Linked DNA regions of Homo sapiens: region 1 is linked to region 2. The links are contacts of gene promoters, found by promoter capture Hi-C in human tissues and cell types (Jung and others, 2019). All regions are on one chromosome and are shown on one strand. Each heading gives the region's core, a stretch centred on a gene start or on the middle of the fragment in contact. The rest is flanking DNA. Distances are from core to core; before and after follow the strand shown.

What was found. The method cuts DNA at HindIII sites, captures the fragments that hold promoters and counts their contacts. A contact is called where the count stands out against the background at its distance.
Region 1: a fragment that was not itself captured here is called in contact with the fragment with the promoter of QRICH2 in region 2 in 1 of the 25 tissues and cell types used here (lymphoblastoid cells).

The regions. Positions count from the first base shown.
Region 1 is chr17:76,085,379-76,088,078 of GRCh38, forward strand. EXOC7 (exocyst complex component 7) reads right to left here. Exons shown (of 19, transcript NM_001013839.4): 11 at 2,682-2,700; 12 at 2,276-2,342; 13 at 702-767; 14 at 299-419; 15 at 1-31. Among named protein-coding and RNA genes, the nearest start is that of ZACN, 7.5 kb to the left of the region's middle. The HindIII fragment of the contact is 7,063 bases long and covers 1-2,700 here.
Region 2 is chr17:76,306,874-76,309,573 of GRCh38, forward strand. QRICH2 (glutamine rich 2) reads right to left here and starts at 1,403. Exons shown (of 19, transcript NM_001388453.1): 1 at 592-1,403. The coding sequence starts at 1,125. PRPSAP1 (phosphoribosyl pyrophosphate synthetase associated protein 1) reads right to left here. Exons shown (of 10, transcript NM_002766.3): 10 at 2,605-2,700. The HindIII fragment of the contact is 11,814 bases long and covers 1-2,700 here.

The sequences.
Region 1 (2,700 bases), core at 2-2,501, 220 kb before region 2:
TGTCACTGCCACCAGCTGGATCAGTTCAGACCTGGGTCGGGGTAGGGGACAGAGGAGAGGAGGACAGGATTGGCTCCTCAGGCCCAAAGGCTGCGGCAATGCCGGGAGGGCCTCCCATTGCACCCCAAACTCCACAAGCTCTATGGCATCCCACCTTCCGGGTCCTGGGGTGGAGGAGACTGAAGCACCCCCTCCCCTCTCGTCCACAAGAGAAGGAGCCCAGGGGGGCAGGGGCTGGCACAGCTGCACAGCCGAGGGGAAGGTGAGAGCCGCAGACTCACTCCCGCAGGCCACTTACTTCTCCAGGGACTTGAGGATGTAATTGTAGTTGTTGTGCAGGAAGATGGCGCTCAGAGCTGGGTCCTCGTACACCTTGGACTTGCTCAGCAAGTTCAACTGCAGGTTGCCCAGCACTTTACCTGCACAGGGAAAAATGGGGCCACACCCACCATGGCAGTCTGACCCAAACGACCCCACCCCAGGACCCGCGAACGCGCTCCTATCCATCGCTCCTCGTCCTGCCTCAGGAGGCCTTAGCCCAACTCCCCTCAGCCTCTGAACTAGAGGTCAGGTTGTGGTTCCAAAGATCAGATGGCACTTAGGAGAGGGCCCTGGGAATAGCCAGAGAGCACAGACAGAAGGAAGGGAAAGGCAGGGCATGCAGGCAGCAGGGCTGCTGGTCTGCCCGGGAGAACACTCACAGATATAGGTGCTTAGCAGCCGCTTGCTGAACTCAGAGCTGTAGCTGGTGGCCGAAGAGCTGGTCTCTGTGAGAGGAGAAGTCCTGTTATTGCAGTGGCAGCAGCCAAGACCCTCAACGGCCCTTCCCCCAGGCCATGCAGCAGTCTGAGGGGACACTGAGACAGGCCCTGGGCTTCCTTGGGCAGAGCTGGCTGCCTGCTAAGCCACAGGGTGGCCCCTGCCGCAGGAAGCACCAGCCCTGGAGTTTTTGGAACCCAGAGCTGCCCTCTATGATGGGATGGAGCTGGCCCATGTCAGCAGAAAAGCTGGCAGGAAAAGAGTGAGATGCCAGCGCCCTGTCCCCTCCTGCCCCCACCCACCCTGGGTGGTTTCTACAAGGCCCCCTTTTTCCTTTTGTCAACAGCAGAGTCTTAGAATGGGCTCCCCACAGCCTCTCCACCTTCTCCCCTACATTCGAACATCCCCTCTACCAGACCCTACTGAACAGACGAAGCTGCGGCCTGCACAGTGGGGAAGGCCGAGTGGGGACAGCAAGGCAGGGAGGCCGGGCGAGCCTAGGGGGTGTATCCAGGGCTCTAGCCTGGGCAGGTGCTGCGGATAAGCTCAGAGACAGAGTGGCCTTGAAGGGAGCAGAGAGAGTTGAGAGCACCCCGAGAAAACTCATGTCCCCTCTGACTCAGGCTCCCCAGTAGGTACTGAGAGTCAGTCCCCAGGGAACCTCACCCACCAAGCTTCAGAGGGACAGGAGGGGGCTGCAGAACCGCACTGCTTACCTCGGGGGTCTAAAGGAATATTGTATGTGTCCCCAAGAACTACGGAGTGAAAGGCAGTGCACACAGAGGGGACAGAGGGAGAGACAAAGGAGGGAGAAAGATGCAAAGTGCAAAAAACAGGTTAGAAACGGCATGTCAACCCGAATTAAGCAGACCTCTCCCCACGACAGCCAAAACACAGATAGCAAGACACAGCAGGCGGGACCCTCTGAGGACCAGGGAACACCCTGGAAAGTAGAGAGCTGAGAACTGCAGGCTGGAGGCTGCCCACAGGCTCCTTGCCCCCAAAATGGGACGGGAGGAGAGGGCCCAGGGACCTCAGTGCTTGGAATGACCCAGAAAGGTGCTCTTGCTTACAGGCCAACCCCCTGAGCTCCAGTCCCAGGGCAGGGCCAGCAGGAAGACGCCCAGCGGGCCCTGAGACACTTGCTACCCTCTGAAGGCCAGCTGAGCGAGCCTGATTAGGAGAGCAGGCAGACACGAGAGAAGGATTTGGGAGGGGGGCAGGGGCAGAAAGGACACCTTCCAACCAACCAGCACCGCTCCCAGAGTGAGGACACTGCTTCCAGGGCGAGGACGGTCAAAGGGGCTGAGGGAGGGGCCAGAGGTCCAGTGTCTGGTCTTGAAAGGTGCAGGCAAACCTTGCTCTCCTGATGCTCAGCCCCAGGGACCCTCTGCTGAGCACACCTCAACCCCTCCACAGACTGGAGATACCTCCTCACTGCTACCTGCCCTCTAACCCCATGTCTCCAGGCAAGGAGGCGAGTGGGGCAGGGGGCCCAACTGGGAGGTACCAGTACCTTGGGAGGCCAGCATGGCGCCTGCCGTCTCCTGGAAGTCCAAAAGCTGCTGCAGGAAGAGGATGGCCTGGGTGGGAAGAAAACGGTGCAGAAGGGCAAGTGGCAGGCCCGGCCGACGGCCTCCCACAGCGACCCCTCTGAGTGCCCAGGGCCAGCCCAGGGCTGGGATCCGCCCAGTGAAGAGCGCGGCTGGAAACTTCATTTTCACTCTAGCCTGCCAGGAAAGGCCCTGTCTGCTAGAGACACTAAACATGTCACTGTCCATCCTGCCACCCAGGACTGCTCACAAAGGTGCGAGCGGCTCTGGGCCAGGCTGAGTCCCTTCCACCAGTACTCTGCCTGGCCCTGGGCCTGGGCCTGGGCCCTCCTTCCTCCCCTCTCCCTGGTGTCCTCAGGCAGCACCCACATTGCTGGTGAGCTCGTGT
Region 2 (2,700 bases), core at 153-2,652:
GAGACTCCTTCTCAAAAAAAAAAAAAGTCCAAGTGAAACGGTCCCCTGCCTGCTGTGGCTTGTGTCATGGCCATAGGAAGCTGAGGTCCAACTCTCCATCCTGACTCCCCTTCTCTGGGAGCCTTTGTCCTCAACACGTATCTCTTCATGTCCTTATTCATTTTAAAAAGGGAATTCACTCTAAGAATCTTCTGAGAAGTTGCCGGCCCCACTCTGAGCCAGCTCTGGGTCCTTGGATGTCTGATAAGTGGTGGGCGAACCTCTCCCGTAAACAGGGGCTAGGAAGGAGGGGGTGGGATGGGGCCACTACACTTAGGAGGTGGGGTCCCCAGGCCCCTCCAGCTCGGGGAGGCCCTAGGCCTTTTGGTGGCGTTCTTTTAGGATTTTCACGTCTTGCAGCCCCGTGGACTGCAAGGTAGAGCATGGGCCACTCTATTTAGCCAGTCGCACTGAGGTCTGGCACCTCCTCGGTCCCCATCCCCTCCGTCCCCACCACCGCTCACCCCTCCAGGGTGGTGGGGACTCGGCTAGGCCTGGAGGGCGGCCTGGAGGAGGCAGACGGCCTGCGCGTGCCTCCGTGTGCGTGCTCACCCTGGCAAAGCTGAGCTCCTCGGCGGCGTCCTTCATGATACTCCCAGTCCGCACCCTATCGAACGCCCGCACGCCCACCTCCTGCTCCTCCGGCCACTCTAGCGCGGCCAGGTCAAGCCCGCTGGCCTGGGAGAAGTGCTGCACGTGCGTGGCGATGCCCTGCACCTGGCCGTCCACACGCTTGAGCTGCTTGCTCAGGTCCTCCACCTGGCCGCCCAGGTCCTTCACTTGGCTCTCCAGCGCTGACGAAGGCGCCTGGCCCACGCCCCTGCGCTTCTCCCGGGGCGCCCCCTTGGGCACCTCCTTGGGCGCGGGCAGGTGCGGGATGCTGAACGAGCTCCGGACGGACTGCAGCGAGCGGCTGGGCTCGGGCGACGAGGGCTGGAAGTCGATCCGGGTATTTTGGAGGTCGAGGTTCTTGAGCATGGCCACGATGAGCGTGTGCAGGGCCGTGAAGTTGACGGCGCCCACCTCTGGCGTGCCGATGGAGAGGTCCGCCAGCTCCCGGAGGGAGACCGTGGTCGCGGGCGGCATCGTGGCTGTCAGGAGCTGTGCGCCGCCGCGGGGCGCCGGCCAACCACTTCCCGCTCACTGCACGCCGCGCCTTGGGGCCTTTCGGGGGCCCTGCGAGGTCCTCGGGGCGCCCCTGCCCCGGGTCCGGCCGAGTCACTGGACAGAGCTCCTGCCTCCAGGGAATCTGCGCCTCCGCTCCCCGGCGGGGTCCGCGATGGCCACCCCTCCGCTGTCTGTCGCTGGCCTCGGGTCCCCGAGCTGGAGCCCTGGACTCCCAGTCCCCGCGCCGGCGGACGTTTGAAACGTGGGGGCCCCCGCGTGCCCTGAAGATTCCACGTAACAACACGCCTCCCTGCGAGCCACGGGGGCGGGGGGAAGTAAAGGCCACCACAAGGATCACAAGGGGAGCCTTGGCAACGGGCTGAGGAGGCCTCCTAAGATCCAGCTAGACTCCATCCATCCCCTTAACCTAGAAAGGCCAGGATTCACTCACTCTTGGCGGGGCCACATAAGGAAAGACTTGAGGGTTTCCTGGCAACCATGCTTTGTGTCATCAGCTGCGTCCATTCCAGAGTGGTGGCCCCATGTCTATGGCCCCATGTCTAAGGGATGCAGTCCTGGGGCCCTGGTCCCCTCAGACAGTCCACATATTTTGTTCAATCAAAGGTGAAGCAACTTGGAAAAGACAACCCACTCACTATTCAGGCAGTTCCAATTAGCCACTAGATGACTAACTGGTGGCTAATTGTCCCTTTTCTGTGCTGCCATAATTTTTTTTTTACTTTTGAGAGGGAGTCTTGCTCTGTCGCCCAGGCTGTAGTGCAATGGCACGATCTCGGCTCACTGCAACCTCTGCCTCCCGGGTTGACATGATTCTCCTGCCTCAGCCTCCCGAGTAGCTGGGATTACAGATGCGTGGTACCATGCCCGGCTAATTTTTTGTATTTTTAGCAGAGACGGGGTTTCACTATGTTGGCCAGGCTGGTCTTGAACTCCCGACCTCAAGTGATCGACCCACCTCGGCCTCCCAAAGTGCTGGGATTACAGGTGTAAGCCACCGCGCCCAGCCTGCCATAAATTAATTGATCTCAAAAAAACGGCCAGGCTTGGTGGCTCACACCTGTAATCCCAGCACTTTGGGAGGCCGAGGCGGGTGGATCACCTGAGGTAAGGGGTTCAAGGCCAGCCTAGCCAACATAGTGAAACCCCTCTGCTAAAAATACAAAAAATTAGCCGGGCATGGTACCGCGCATCTGTAATCCCAGCTACTCGGGAGGCTGAGGCAGGAGAATCGCGTCAACCCGGGAGGCAGAGGTTGCAGTGAGCCAAGATCGCACCACTGCACCCCAGCCTGGGCGACAGTGCAAGACTCTGTCTCAAAAAAAAAAAAAAAGAAAAGAAAAGAAACCACTCACCTGGTCAAGCGCCTGTGCTTGAGCTCATTACAAAGCAGGATTAAACAGCACGAGACAAATCTGGTGTTAACAATTGAGACATGACTTCCCCATACAAGATTCTTCCCAAAAACGTATAAATAAAACTTCCTAACAGAAGCACAGCAAGGCTACTTAAAGAGAACCTATGAATGTGTGCCAT